Regions from separate parts of the Homo sapiens genome. Here regions 2, 3, 4 and 5 are each linked to region 1. The links are contacts of gene promoters, found by promoter capture Hi-C in human tissues and cell types (Jung and others, 2019). All regions are on one chromosome and are shown on one strand. Each heading gives the region's core, a stretch centred on a gene start or on the middle of the fragment in contact. The rest is flanking DNA. Distances are from core to core; before and after follow the strand shown. Region 1 holds the start of ZNRF4 (zinc and ring finger 4). Region 2 holds the start of KDM4B (lysine demethylase 4B). Region 3 has its middle 4.7 kb from the start of PTPRS-AS1. Region 4 overlaps KDM4B (lysine demethylase 4B). Region 5 overlaps KDM4B (lysine demethylase 4B).

Region 1 (2,700 bases), core at 118-2,617:
CAAGACAGTACTGGGTTCGTTGACTTATGGAGCTCATTCGACTGGGGACCTCTAGGAGATATGGTAGAACATACTTCGATTTGTCCCATAAGAGGGACGAGGGAGTGGGGGCATTTATCTACCACCTCCCATCTGTCACTGGCTGAGGGCTGCTCTGAGAGGTATTAGGCCAACACAGAAAATCTAAAGACTAAGTAGTCAGCCTGGCAAAGTGAAGTTGAGGAGCAAGAATTCTGTTCCAGGCAGAGGGAACAGCATTTGCAAAATTCTAGAGGTGAACAAAGCAAGATGCCTCTGGGACATTGCAAATCATCCAGGCTTCAGAGATTGGCAGGCGCCCAACCACAGGGGTGCATGTAGGCCACAGAGAAGAGTGTGGGCTTTATCTGGAGGGCAATGGGGAGCCATGGGAGAGTTTAGAGCATGGGAAAGACTATGTTACAGGTCTGGAAGCTGAGGCCCAGAGAGGCTAAGGAATTTAGCTGATGTCATACAGCTTATGAATGGCAGAGACAGAAATCCGACTTGAGTGGGCTGCAGACAGATTGAGGGTGTGAAATTTGGGGGATGGGGACTGGGGAGGAGGTGAGGCTGATGCCCAGGGCTGAAGCTCAGGCAGGGGGCACAGTTGGAGACCCAGCTGGAGAGGCAATGCTATAGGGAGAGAGAATGAAGCTGGTGCAAGCCTGGAGGCCAACCTGGCGGTGCGGACTTGGGACCACTGACCCCCACCAGCCCCACCCTGACCCTGGCACTTGACTCTCCCTCCAAATCAAGTCCAGGAGGGCTCTGAGGATATATGGACTCAGACCTGAGTCCGGATAAAAGAGCCAGCTACGGAGAGAAAGGGCTTTCCAGGCAGGAGGCCCAGCCCATGCAAAGGCCCTGGGGCAGGATCCTGCCTGGTGTGTTGGAGGAACAGCAAGGAGATCTGTGTGGCTGGAGCAGAGTGAGGGATGGTGACAGGGGGTCAGGAATTTGGGTTTTAAGCACTGATCTCATTGTAGGGGGGCGTGGCTTGAACAAGTCTGGGTCACTCTTGGAGTCTCAGACAAGGGTAACATTGAACCTTCTACAGTGTGTTGCTAGGAACCTCCAGAAGCTGATGCTGGTAGCGTCTTCGCACAGTGAGGGCTGAATCTGCACTGCTGGGGGCCGGCAGCCCTTTTGAAGCATCCCTGGGCCTCCTTGGGTCCAAAGATACCCTGAGCCTTCAAGAAGTTATCTCAAAGCTTGCCCGGGTACCGGCAAATCACAGACCTAGGAATGATCCATTGGCCACAGGCCCAGGCAGCTGGCAGCTCCTGGGACAGAATGTAGCAGGGCGATGTCACAGAAGCTGGGGGCATCTAGAACCCTGGTGACTCCTGGTCTCCATGTCATCTGCCAGAAAGGCCACCTGCGCCAGCACCTCCTGAGACCGGCCTTCAAAGACACGACGCATGCCGCTCTGCCGTCCGGAGCACTTAATGCCTAGAGCCAGCAGGGTCCCAGTGGCCGCGTCACTGCCTCTGAGCCACGCGGTCATTCCAACTCAACTGCCCTCGCGTCCTGGCCACAGGCCCCCTGGGAGACCCCGGAGATGCCCAAAGGCCTCATGCCTGCCGCCTCCAGTGGGACCTAGCAGCACACAGACAGCGAAGCGGGTGACCATGGGGTGGCCACGGCCGGGCCGAGCCCTCGTGGCAGTCAAAGCCTTGCTGGTCTTGTCGCTGCTCCAGGTGCCCGCGCAGGCAGTGGTACGGGCCGTGCTGGAAGACAACTCGAGCTCGGTGGACTTTGCGGATCTGCCGGCGCTGTTCGGCGTCCCCCTGGCCCCCGAGGGCATACGGGGCTACCTGATGGAGGTCAAGCCAGCCAACGCGTGCCATCCCATCGAGGCCCCGCGACTGGGCAACCGCTCTCTGGGCGCCATCGTGCTGATCCGCCGCTACGACTGCACCTTCGACCTCAAGGTGCTGAACGCCCAGCGCGCCGGCTTCGAGGCGGCCATCGTGCACAACGTCCACTCCGACGACCTCGTGAGCATGACCCACGTCTACGAGGACTTGAGGGGCCAGATCGCCATCCCCTCAGTGTTCGTGAGCGAGGCCGCCTCGCAGGACCTGCGGGTCATCCTGGGCTGCAACAAGTCGGCCCACGCGCTGCTCCTGCCCGACGACCCACCGTGCCACGACCTGGGCTGTCACCCCGTGCTGACCGTGTCCTGGGTGCTGGGCTGTACCCTGGCCCTGGTCGTATCAGCCTTCTTTGTCCTGAACCACCTGTGGCTCTGGGCCCAGGCCTGCTGCAGCCACAGACGGCCGGTGAAGACGTCTACCTGCCAGAAGGCCCAGGTCCGCACCTTCACGTGGCACAACGACCTGTGTGCCATCTGCCTGGATGAGTATGAGGAGGGCGACCAACTCAAGATCCTGCCCTGCTCCCACACCTACCACTGCAAATGCATTGACCCCTGGTTCTCCCAAGCCCCCCGGCGCTCCTGCCCCGTGTGCAAACAGTCGGTGGCCGCCACAGAAGACAGCTTTGACTCCACCACCTACAGCTTCAGGGACGAGGACCCCTCCCTACCGGGCCACCGGCCCCCCATCTGGGCCATTCAAGTCCAGCTACGCTCCCGGAGGCTGGAGCTGCTGGGCCGCGCCAGTCCCCACTGCCACTGCAGCACCACGTCCCTGGAGGCAGAGTATACCACTGTCT
Region 2 (2,700 bases), core at 169-2,668, 490 kb before region 1:
TGGTCTCGAACTCTGGACCTCAGGTGTTCCACCCGACTCGACCTCCCAAAGTGCTGGGATTACAGGTGTGAGTCGCCCGAGCCACAGCACCGGGCCTGGCCTCCTTTTCAATTGCTACATAGTAAGTATTCCAGAGTACTGATTGCTATTAAGTTACTTCTCTAATCCCCCACTGATGGATAGTTAGTGCAAAACATTGGAAACAGTTGCAGACAGCCCTGCCGCCGGCATTCTTGAATTGTGTAAGCTCCAGACCTTTTTTCTGGGTACATCACCTCCAGGAAGAACTGCTGGCTGGGTTATCGGGTGGTGGATGCACTTAGAATGTTATTAGAAAATGTCAAATTGCCCAATTTACACTCCTGCCACTCCAAATGGGGGCATGCCTCACACCCCTGCGTGGTCCAGTACACAATGAATGCTCATTTTGTGAAGTCACAGGGTCAAATCTTTCTCCGTGCCTCATCCCACTTAATCCTTGCAACATTCTCAAGAGGCGGGTAGACGGGGTGTGGCCACTACCATCATATCCATTGCACAGTTGGAAACAGACTCAGCGAGGTTACTTTGCTGGAGGTCAACCACAGTGAGGCATGGGGCCCGGCTTAGCTTTGAATCCAGGTCAGAAAGCACCAAAGCTCATTCTCTCCCATACATTTTAGGGAACTCGGGGAGAGGGACCCTAACTATTCCGAAGGCCTTGCCCCTTGGCAAAGGTTTGTTGATTGTGATGGGAATAGACCTACGGTGGCGGGGTGGAGGCTCTTGCTGCTTTACCCTATGTTCTCGGTTCTCCTCCTTTGCAAAACGGATCGCTATGTCTCCTTGCTTGGCACTTTGCAAATTGGGGAACGCTAAGCCCACATTCCGGCCACGGGTTTCGAACCTCCAGCCTGCACGTTCCCGGCCGGTGCTGATGCTGTGCTGGGTCTCACGTACTCAGCCGCCGCCTGATAACCAGGGCGGGGCCCGGAGCTTGCGGGCAGTGATTGGCACCTGCCCCAGCCTGTCCGCGCCTCGGGCTGGCCCCTCAAGCCAATACTGGCTCCTCTCTGTGCGGTCGTCGGGCGGGCCCTGAGGCTCCCTTGTCAATCCAAGGCCCAGCTGCCGTCGGGTTGGTCGCGGCAGCCTTGGCTGGCGTGCGCCCCCTCCAATGAGAACAGAGCCGGTCAGCGGGCACGTGGGTGGGCGCCGGCGTGTCCCCGCCGGTCTGCCAATGAAGAGGCGAGGCCGGCGTTTGTCCCCGCCCAATCGCGGCGCGCGGTGGGCGGGCCGTGCGGTGTTGATGGGCCCGGCGGAGGGGAGGGGCGGAGCTGTCAGCTCCGGCCAATGGGCGCTCGGGCGTGGATCCGGCAGCCAATGGCAGTCGGGGCGGAGCTGGCGCGCGGCCTTATAAGCCCCCCCGCGAGCGCTTGCGGAGGGCTCGGTCGCCAGCAACCGAGCGGGGCCCGGCCCGAGCGGGGCCTGGGGGTGCGACGCCGAGGGCGGGGGAGAGCGCGCCGCTGCTCCCGGACCGGGCCGCGCACGCCGCCTCAGGTGAGCCCACGGGGAGGCCGCCCGGCCGTGTCCGAGCGCGGACCCCGCCGCCATGGCCGCCCCCGCGTCGCGGCTCGGGGCTGCGGGCGCGCCCGGGACTCGAGGCCCAGGCCTCGGGCGCGGCCTGCTCGGGCCGGGCCTCGCGCTTTGTCCGGGCCGGCGGGGCGGTTGGGGCGTTAACCGCCCGGCCCGGGGGCGCCCGCTGGTTTTCGGGCGGGGGCGGCGGGGCCGGACAATGGCGGGGCGCGCCCAGGGGCGGGAGCGGGGGCCCCTTCCCGGGCCGGGGGCGCGCGGGGGCTGGGCACAGACGGCCCCGGCGCCCCGCACAAAAGATGACAGCGTGGGTGGCCCCGGCCGGGCCCTTTTATCACCCGGGACAAGCCTCGGCCTATTATTATTATTATTTTTGAAAGAAAGCAAGAAAAAGGAAAAAGACCCCAGCCCCTGGGTAACCCCCGCCTGCGTTTCTGGCCCTTTGGGCGCCAGGGGGGCTAAGGGGAAGCCCCCCAGCTGGACACCCAGGGATGCCCCCTAAATGCCTATCATTGCTCCTGCACTGCCCCCACCTCCGGTCAACCTGCTATGCCTTGGTAGCTTCCAAACTTGCCCCCCTGTACGTACCCGAAACCCCCACCCCGCCATAAGCATATGCAATCTGGATTTTAGAAAAAAATCATCTTGCTATGCAACGGCAGCCTCCACGAGTCTCTCCGTCCCTCCCCCTTCCAGCCTGATCGCCATCTCGAACGAAGCCCCTGCTCTAGAGAAATGAATTGAGGAGTTGCTTCCGCCGAGACCCCTTTTCTGTGTCCCCCGTGGACATCCCCCTGGGAGCTGGGGACGGACTCGCTCTGAAATCTGCTTGACCTGGGGTCTGCCAGGGCCCAGGTCTGCGCTCAGTGGTGGCCATGACAATCAGGCAGGACGGGGGACTCTGTCCACCTGGGCACGGTGGAAGGTTTTAAGGGGCATGTTTTCCGCCCCTGGGGGCAGTGGAGGCATGGACTGCTTTTGGGTGCATCCCATCTGTTTGCTTGGGGGAGGATGCTTCTGTTTTAATAATTTACCAGCACCCTGTGAGGAAGTGTTCCCCGAGTTGTGAAACTAGTGAGAAGGTGGTTCAGCTCCGTGGAGCCTAGTGATCCTGTCATATGTGAAGAGCGT
Region 3 (2,700 bases), core at 155-2,654, 280 kb before region 1:
GAGCGAGGTTGAGTATACTCTCATTGGATTAAAAGCCTTTTGTCAGAACTGTCTTGAAACATACTATTTTTTAAATTCCACGATGGCCATTTCCCGTCAGTGAGAGGGTTGATTTGATGTTTAATCTTTTGCGTTTCTACATCCATCTAGCTCAGCGTCAGTTGCTGAGATCTGGGTCAGGGGTCACACCCAGCTTTTTCTTCTCTTACGTTTGATGTTGATAAATGAGAAAAACCAGGTCAGGTGTGCTGGCTCATGCCTGGCATTCCAACGGTTGAGGAAGCTGAGGCGGGAGGATCACTTGAGGCCAAGAGTTTAAGACCAGCCTGGGCAACAGAGTAAGACTTCGTCTCTACCAAAAAATCAAAAAGTGAGCTGGGCGTGGTGGTGGGCACCTGTAGTCTCAGCTACTCAGGAGGCTGAGATAAGAGGATCACTTGAGCCCAGGAGTTTGAGGCTGCAGTGAGCTACGATCACACCACTGCACTCCAGCCTGGGCGAAAGAATGAGACCCTGTCTTTAAAAAAAAAAAAAAAAAAAGGCCTCATGTCGTGGCACATGCCTGTAATCCCAGCACTTTGGGACGCCAAAGTGGGCAGATCGCCTGAGGTCAGGGGTTCAAAACCAGCCTGACCAACATAGTAAAACCCTGTCTCTACTAAAAATACAAAATTAGCCGGGTGTGGTGGCACATGCCTGTAATCCCAGCTACTTGGGAGGCTGAGGCAGGAGAATCGCTTGAACCTGGGAGGCAGATGTTGCAGTGAGCCCAGATTGCACCACTGCACCACTGCACTCCAGCCTGGGCAACAAGAGTGAGACTCCGTATCAAAAAAAAAAAAAAAAAAAAAAGAGAGAAAGAAAGCCGAGTGCGGTGGCTCACGCCTGTAATCCCAGCACTTTGGGAGGCTGAAGAGGGCAGATCACAAGGACAGGAGATGAGACCATCCTGGCTAACATGGTGAAACCCCGTCTCTACTAAAAATACAAAAAATTAGCCGGATGTGGTGGCGGGCGCCTGTAGTCCCAGCTACTTGGGAGGCTGAGGCAGGAGAATAGCTTGAACCCAGGAGGTGGAGGTTGCAATGAGCCAAGATCACGCCACTGCACTCCAGCCTGGATGACAGAGTGAGACTCCGTCTCCAAAAAAAAAGAGAGTGATGGGGCTCACACCTGTAACCCCAATACTTCACAGAGCTGAGGAGGGAGGATCACTTGAAGTCAGGAGGTTGAGGTCAGCCTGGGCAGCATAGCAAGACTGTCTGTACTAAATTTTTTTTAATTAGCTGAGCGTGATGGTGCATGCCTGAGTCCCAGCTACTTGGGAGGCTGAGGCGGGAGGATCGCTTGAGCCCAGGAGTTCAAGGCTGCAGTGAGCTATGATCACACCACTGCACTCCAGCCTGGGTGACAGAGCAAGATCCTGTCTTAAAATAAATAAAATAAAAATTTTCTAAATCCTGCAAATAATCTTATCGGAAGCATTTAGATCGAATTTTTAAATATACTCCACAGTGAATCATCCATTTCTGTCTCCAACAGGAAAAGAAAATCATGATGAATCAGCGAAAGGTCACACCCTTGGTGACTGAGCCATTTGTGCAAAAGCTTCATTCTTTTCCAGAAACCCCAGTTTGTCCTCAGAGTTAAGACTGTCAGCTCCAAAGGGATGGCCCCAGGCTGTGCTAGTAACTGAAAACCTCCCCACGACACAAGCCTGAAATAACCGCTGTGGGTGTGGGTGGTGTTATTGATGTCACAAAGAAATATCATCTCAAAACTCATGTTTCAAAAATGCTTGTGAGGGCTGGGTATGGTGGCTCAGGCTTGTAATCCCAGCACTCTGGGAGGCCAAGGGAGGTGGATCACTTGAGGTCAGGAGTTTGAGACCAGCCTGACCAGGTCAGGAGTTTGAGACCCAACATGGTGAAACCCCATCTGTACTAAAAATATAAAAATTAGCCGGGTGTGATGGCGCGTGCCTGCAATCCCACCTACTCAGGAGGCCGAGGCACGAGAATTGCTTGAACCTGGGAGGTGTGGGTTGCAGTGAGCAAAGATTGCCCCAGTGCACTCCAACCTGGGCAACAGAGCGAGACTCCATCTCAAAAGAAAAAAAAAAGACAAAAACAGGCCAGGAGCGGTGGCTCACGCCTGTAATCCCAGCACTTTGGGAGGCTGAGGCGGGCGGATCACGAGGTCAGGAGATCGAGACCATCCTGGCTAACACGGTAAAACCCCGTCTCTACTAAAAATACAAAAAATTAGCCGGGCGTGGTGGCGGGCACCTGTAGTCCCAGCCACTCGGGAGGCTGAGGCAGGAGAATGGCGTGAATCCAGGAGGCGGAGCTTGCAGTGAGCCGAGATTGAGCCACTGCACTCCAGCCTGGGCGAGACTCCGTCTAAAAAACAAACAAACAAACAAAACACGTATAAGCACCTTTTTCCAGGAATGCCAACATCCTTCCAAGGGAAAAGAGCAAAGTCTCGTCACCACGGTCCAGCTTGTCCTACAGCTGATGAGGGTGATGGAGCTGCTGTAATGTCTGTCGTTTTCTTCACTGGAAGATGAGAAGATAAATGTGGGCGGTCTTTGCTGAATAAAGCAGTGTGGGATTTGTGGTTCCCGAGCAAACTGTGTTTGGGTAGCAAGGGCCCTTTCTGGTTGCTCCCCAAGCTGGTCGCCTTTCTGGACTGACC
Region 4 (2,700 bases), core at 165-2,664, 300 kb before region 1:
GACCCGGTAATTGGAGGGTGAGCCTCGGGGGGGGGGCAGGACGCCCCGGTTTCGGCACAGCCCGGTCACTCACGGCCTCGCTCTCGCCTCACCCCGGCTCCTGGGCTTTGATGGTCTGGTGCCAGTGCCTGTGCCCACTCTGTGCCTGCTGGGAGGAGGCCCAGGCTCTCTGGTGGCCGCCCCTGTGCACCTGGCCAGGGGAAGCCCGGGGGTCTGGGGCCTCCCTCCGTCTGCGCCCACCTTTGCAGAATAAACTCTCTCCTGGGGTTTGTCTATCTTTGTTTCTCTCACCTGAGAGAAACGCAGGTGTTCCAGAGGCTTCCTTGCAGACAAAGCACCCCTGCACCTCCTATGGCTCAGGATGAGGGAGGCCCCCAGGCCCTTCTGGTTGGTAGTGAGTGTGGACAGCTTCCCAGCTCTTCGGGTACAACCCTGAGCAGGTCGGGGGACACAGGGCCGAGGCAGGCCTTCGGGGCCCCTTTCGCCTGCTTCCGGGCAGGGACGAGGCCTGGTGTCCTCGCTCCACCCACCCACGCTGCTGTCACCTGAGGGGAATCTGCTTCTTAGGAGTGGGTTGAGCTGATAGAGAAAAAACGGCCTTCAGCCCAGGCTGGGAAGCGCCTTCTCCAGGTGCCTCTCCCTCACCAGCTCTGCACCCCTCTGGGGAGCCTTCCCCACCTTAGCTGTCTCCTGCCCCAGGGAGGGATGGAGGAGATAATTTGCTTATATTAAAAACAAAAAATGGCTGAGGCAGGAGTTTGGGACCAGCCTGGGCTATATAGCAAGACCCCATCACTACAAATTTTTTACAAATTAGCTAGGTGTGGTGGTGCGCACCTGTGGTCCCAGCTACTCGGGAGGCTGTGGTGGGAGGATTGCTTGAGTCCAGGAGGTTGAGGCTGCAGTCAGCTCAGATTGCACCACTGCACTCCAGCCTGGGCAACAGAGCGAGACCCTGTCTCCAAAAAAAAAAAAAAGCAATGTTTATATTATAAAAGAGTGTCCTAACAGTCCCCGGGCTAGAGAGGACTAAGGAAAACAGAGAGAGTGTTACGCAGGAGCAAGCCTTTCATTTCCTTGGTGGGGGAGGGGGGCGGTTGCCCTGGAGAGGGCCGGGGTCGGGGAGGTTGGGGGGTGTCAGCCAAAACGTGGAGGTGTCCCTCTGCACGCAGCCCTCGCCCGGCGTGGCGCTGACACTGTATTCTTATGTTGTTTGAAAATGCTATTTATATTGTAAAGAAGCGGGCGGGTGCCCCTGCTGCCCTTGTCCCTTGGGGGTCACACCCATCCCCTGGTGGGCTCCTGGGCGGCCTGCGCAGATGGGCCACAGAAGGGCAGGCCGGAGCTGCACACTCTCCCCACGAAGGTATCTCTGTGTCTTACTCTGTGCAAAGACGCGGCAAAACCCAGTGCCCTGGTTTTTCCCCACCCGAGATGAAGGATACGCTGTATTTTTTGCCTAATGTCCCTGCCTCTAGGTTCATAATGAATTAAAGGTTCATGAACGCTGCGAAACCCCGTTCCATGCCCCGGCAAGTGTCTTCATTTCTGAGCCTGTGCTAGGGGGACTGATGTTGGGGCCTCCCTGGGGTGGGGCTGCCTGCGCCCCGTTCTCCCGGGAGAAGGTTTGCTTCCAGAGCTGGATGTCCCTCCCCTCCCACTCTCCAGGGTCCCCAACACACCCCCACACACCCAGGGGCAGCTGTCATGCCCCTCATGCTGTGGCCAGGCTGGGTGGCTGGGGCAGCGGACCCCATGATTCCCCCTCAGTTCTCTGGAGGCCTGGCCCTGGCCTCACTCGTCCCAGCCAGCAGCTGCCCTGTCCCTGTCCCCCATCCGGTTCTGGTTACATCTGAGCCCCGAGAGCATTGCTTGTGGTGGTGGTGGCTGGCAGACGTGCTAGGCGCTGGGGCTCACGGCCCTGGATGGCCACTGGGACCCAGCAGTCCTGGCCTGGGTCACTCAGTGCCCAGCCCCACCAGGCCTGGAGTCGGCAGAGGGGACACGGGAGACCTGAGCCTCCCTCAGGGAGGTGACCCTCCTGTGCCTGGTGTGCGGCAAGAACATGAAGAGGCCCCTGTGGCTGGAGCAGAGGGAGGCAGGGGAGAGGGGGAGGAGGGGAGGCAGGGTGTGCAGGCCCTTGTGGGTCTCGGGAAGGACTTGGGCTTTGACCCTGAGGGAGGTGGGAGCCATGGAGGGGTGTGGGCAGGGGAGGGATGGGCCCTGACTCAGGTGCTCACAGGCGCCCTCTGGTGATTGCTGTGGGGAGGAGACGGGGTAAGGGCAGAAGCTAGGGACCAGGGCAGGGGTCAGGTGTAGTGAGAAGTGGGTGGATTCTGGATGCATTTTCAGTGCAGAGCCAATAGGATTCGCAGATCACCCGAGCCCCTGGAAGGAGGCGTTGAGCTGGGAGGGGGTTGGATTTGAACACCAGACGTCCAGGTGAAGGTGCTGGGTCTGGGGAGGCCGCCCCAAGGCAGGTGGTCAGGGGCCGTCAGCTGGCAGGTGTTGGAACTAGAGGATGAAGTCACCTGCAGGGAGTGGGTGGAGGTGGGGTGGGACCCAGGACTGGGCCCTGGGTGTCTGTGGTGGGACGGGGGCTGGGACACCCGGAGAAACCCAGGCCCAGCAGCCAGGGCTCGGGGGGACGCGGCCAGGCCATCCCTCCCTGGGCCCCGGCGTTCCCTCTGCAGAAGGAGT
Region 5 (2,700 bases), core at 2-2,501, 320 kb before region 1:
GGGGAGAGGAGGGTTCTAGAAGCGCGTGGGATCACAGGGCGGGAGCTCCCAGGAGTGGAGGAATCGGCACGGGGACAGAGGAATGACCAGGGGCCCCCGCGGGCTGGCTTGGGAAGGGGTCTTGCCTTCTACCCAGGTATCCTTCCAGAAGGCATCTCTGGGGCCTCCGTGGACTCCCCCACTCCCCACACCCCACTGTGACCCTTTGGTGAGACCGGAGCATTTGCCTGTGAGACCATCACGGCCCCAGAACCCCAGGCATTCTGGGGTTGTGAGTGACAGACGCAGCCAGTGGCTCTGTTCTCATCCCCAGGGCCTCGGGGCCGCTTAGGGCCTTCCCTGGGCTCCGCTGGCGGTACTGTCTGGTTTGGGTTTTCAGAGGAGTCTTGGCCTAAGGGCTTCCTGAGTCCACCATGGGAGACCTGGGCCTCCACCTCGGGGAGCCTGCCCTGCCCTGCCCTGCCCTCCTCTAGGTGAACCAGGGGCAGTGCCACAGCTGGGCTGATCCCAGGACCCCAGGCTCCCCTTTAGGTTGGGCTGAGGATTGGGCCACAGGAGTGGGCACCCCACTTCCTGGGGACAGCACCCCTGTGTCCACAGGAGATGCAGGGAGGGGACGTGGGGAGATTGGGGTGCGGCAGCTGGCAATGGAGGCCATTAGAGTTCAATGGGAACAGGCAACAGGTGGGAGAGAGACCGCCGCGGCTTCTCAGCAGCAGACCTGCCTTCCGGGAGAGTGTCCCCGTCACGCAGCTCTTCCTGGGGCGGGCTGCCTTGGCTTCCTAGCCCTGGTCACGGCCCCTCCTGACTCCCTGTCGCACTCCTCTGGCACCTCCCTTGAGTTCAGTGAGTCTGTGCCCACCTAAGACAGGAAGGACAGTGTCTCTGAGTCTCGGCTGGTCACTGCCGACGCCCCCACTCAGACTCAGACCCCAGGACGGGTGTAGGGCAGCCGGGGCAGGGCTGGGCACTGAGTTTGGCCAGTCCTTGGCCCAGAAGGCCCTGGGTGAGTGGACGGCTCTGGATGTCCAGGGAGAACCAGGTGTTGGGGGAGGGGCTCAGAGGAACCATGTTTGGGGGCTCTGGCCTCAGGTGGCAGTCAGCCGAGACAGACGTGTCCCCCTCCTGTTGATGGGATGGGACGCTGCAGTGTCAGCTTGATGGGCATTGTGGAGAATGGGGCAGCCAGGAGGCAGGTGGAGGGGGAGCTATGGGCCAGGGACCCTGTGGGCAGCCAGGGCTGTAGACCCGGGGCCATCCCCTGGGCAGTTGGGGTGATTCCTTGGACGAGTTTTTAGGGGGCTCAAGTGTCTCTCTCCCTCTCCCCTCTGTTCTTCTAGAGGCATCCCCTTTCTCCGGGGAGGAAGATGTGAGTGACCCGGACGCCTTGAGGCCGCTGCTGTCTCTGCAGTGGAAGAACAGGGCGGCCAGCTTCCAGGCCGAGAGGAAGTTCAACGCAGCGGCTGCGCGCACGGAGCCCTACTGCGCCATCTGCACGCTCTTCTACCCCTACTGCCAGGTGGGCAGGCGGGCCTCACGGGTCCCAGAGAACCCCAGGCAGGGGCGGTGGGAGAGGGCGAGGGACCGGGCACCCCACACGCCTCCCTCTCTCACGCAGGGCAGGGTGTTGGCCAGCACCCCGAGTTGTGAGGGCTTGTTCCTGACAGCCGTAGGCAGAGCCTGGTCTCTGGGTTTTATTGGAATGAAGCTTACTAACGTGCCCATGTGCAACATGAGCCATGGTGGATGGGGCAGAGGGAGGCTGCGGAGGCTCGGGGTCACTGCCCTCAGGGAGCGCCCGTGTCTGGTGGGCGCTGAGATGGGCCGGGTGGTGTGGGAGTGCAGTGAAGGCCCAGGTACACCACCTGGGTGGCCGGGCGGGGCTCCCGCAAACCCTGGCCTGTCTAGCTGAGCTGGGCACCTGGCTAAGGTCCTGTTTCTGGTGCTCTTTCCATGCTGGCCTCGCCTGTCCTCTGCACCCAGATGGGGAGCTGGCCTCTGCCCACGGCCATCCCAGGCATCAGCACCCAGCCCAGCCGTTTTCCTCGGATCTCTTAGATCCCCCCTTCTCTCTTCCCCTGGGCATGCAGCCTCCCCAGGACAGGACCTGGCCACATGCTTTGCACTCCCAGCTCCTAGCCCCATGCCAAGCATGTCCAGGCATCAGCAGAGCTGCCCTGGGTTGGGGACGTCACCCCCCAGGCCTGTGCGCCGGCCGGGTCTGGGTGGACAGAGCCAGGGAGAGTGCTGTGCCGAGGGTGGTGAGCCTGTCTTGGGGCTCTGCTGCTGGGAGCTGGATTTAGTGCTCTGGTTCCTGAGACAAACAAGACCTGACAGCCGACACCGTCTCCAGGCACTTGCTGTCCTTTGTGAGGCCAGAGAGGCTGCTGGGAGCCACAGGGCCTGGAATGCCACTTCAGACATGCGTCTTCCTAATTCCCCTTGCCAGGCAGAGTGTGGAGACTCGTTCATCACACACCACCCCCAGCATACCCCAGCGCCAGGGGCCACCCAGCACCAGGGGCCACACAGGCCAGCCTGAGCTCTGTGTCTGGATGCAACCCTCATGGGAAGGTCTTCGGCGGGTTGGGGACAGGGTCAGACAGTGTTTGGGGATCCTGACTTTCTGGAGGAGTGAGAAGAGGGGCCGAGGTGGCTCTGGCCATCTCCCCGACCTCCCCCTCCAGAGCCAGGGGGTGT

What was found. Contacts are between HindIII fragments. The study calls those that stand out against the background at their distance.
Region 2: the fragment with the promoter of KDM4B here is called in contact with the fragment with the promoter of ZNRF4 in region 1 in 1 of the 25 tissues and cell types used here (IMR-90 fibroblasts).
Region 3: a fragment that was not itself captured here is called in contact with the fragment with the promoter of ZNRF4 in region 1 in 2 of the 25 tissues and cell types used here (bladder and heart left ventricle).
Region 4: a contact is called between a fragment that was not itself captured here and the fragment with the promoter of ZNRF4 in region 1, in 2 of the 25 tissues and cell types used here (IMR-90 fibroblasts and lymphoblastoid cells).
Region 5: a contact is called between a fragment that was not itself captured here and the fragment with the promoter of ZNRF4 in region 1, in 3 of the 25 tissues and cell types used here (IMR-90 fibroblasts, liver and thymus).

What each region holds. Positions count from the first base shown.
Region 1 is chr19:5,454,050-5,456,749 of GRCh38, forward strand. ZNRF4 (zinc and ring finger 4) reads left to right here and starts at 1,368. Exons shown (of 1, transcript NM_181710.4): 1 at 1,368-2,700. The coding sequence starts at 1,443. The HindIII fragment of the contact is 14,927 bases long and covers 114-2,700 here.
Region 2 is chr19:4,967,695-4,970,394 of GRCh38, forward strand. It overlaps KDM4B (lysine demethylase 4B), which reads left to right and starts at 1,419. Exons shown (of 23, transcript NM_015015.3): 1 at 1,419-1,536. RefSeq lists silencers at 883-982, 1,293-1,592. The HindIII fragment of the contact is 14,440 bases long and covers 1-2,700 here.
Region 3 is chr19:5,171,681-5,174,380 of GRCh38, forward strand. No RefSeq gene overlaps it. Among named protein-coding and RNA genes, the nearest start is that of PTPRS-AS1, 4.7 kb to the right of the region's middle. RefSeq lists an enhancer at 984-2,183 and a silencer at 2,265-2,456. The HindIII fragment of the contact is 5,637 bases long and covers 1-2,700 here.
Region 4 is chr19:5,152,084-5,154,783 of GRCh38, forward strand. KDM4B (lysine demethylase 4B) reads left to right here. Exons shown (of 23, transcript NM_015015.3): 23 at 1-1,515. Among named protein-coding and RNA genes, the nearest start is that of PTPRS-AS1, 24 kb to the right of the region's middle. RefSeq lists an enhancer at 1,883-2,383 and a silencer at 2,141-2,200. The HindIII fragment of the contact is 6,421 bases long and covers 1-2,700 here.
Region 5 is chr19:5,132,543-5,135,242 of GRCh38, forward strand. KDM4B (lysine demethylase 4B) reads left to right here. Exons shown (of 23, transcript NM_015015.3): 14 at 1,341-1,519. Among named protein-coding and RNA genes, the nearest start is that of PTPRS-AS1, 44 kb to the right of the region's middle. The HindIII fragment of the contact is 6,554 bases long and covers 1-2,700 here.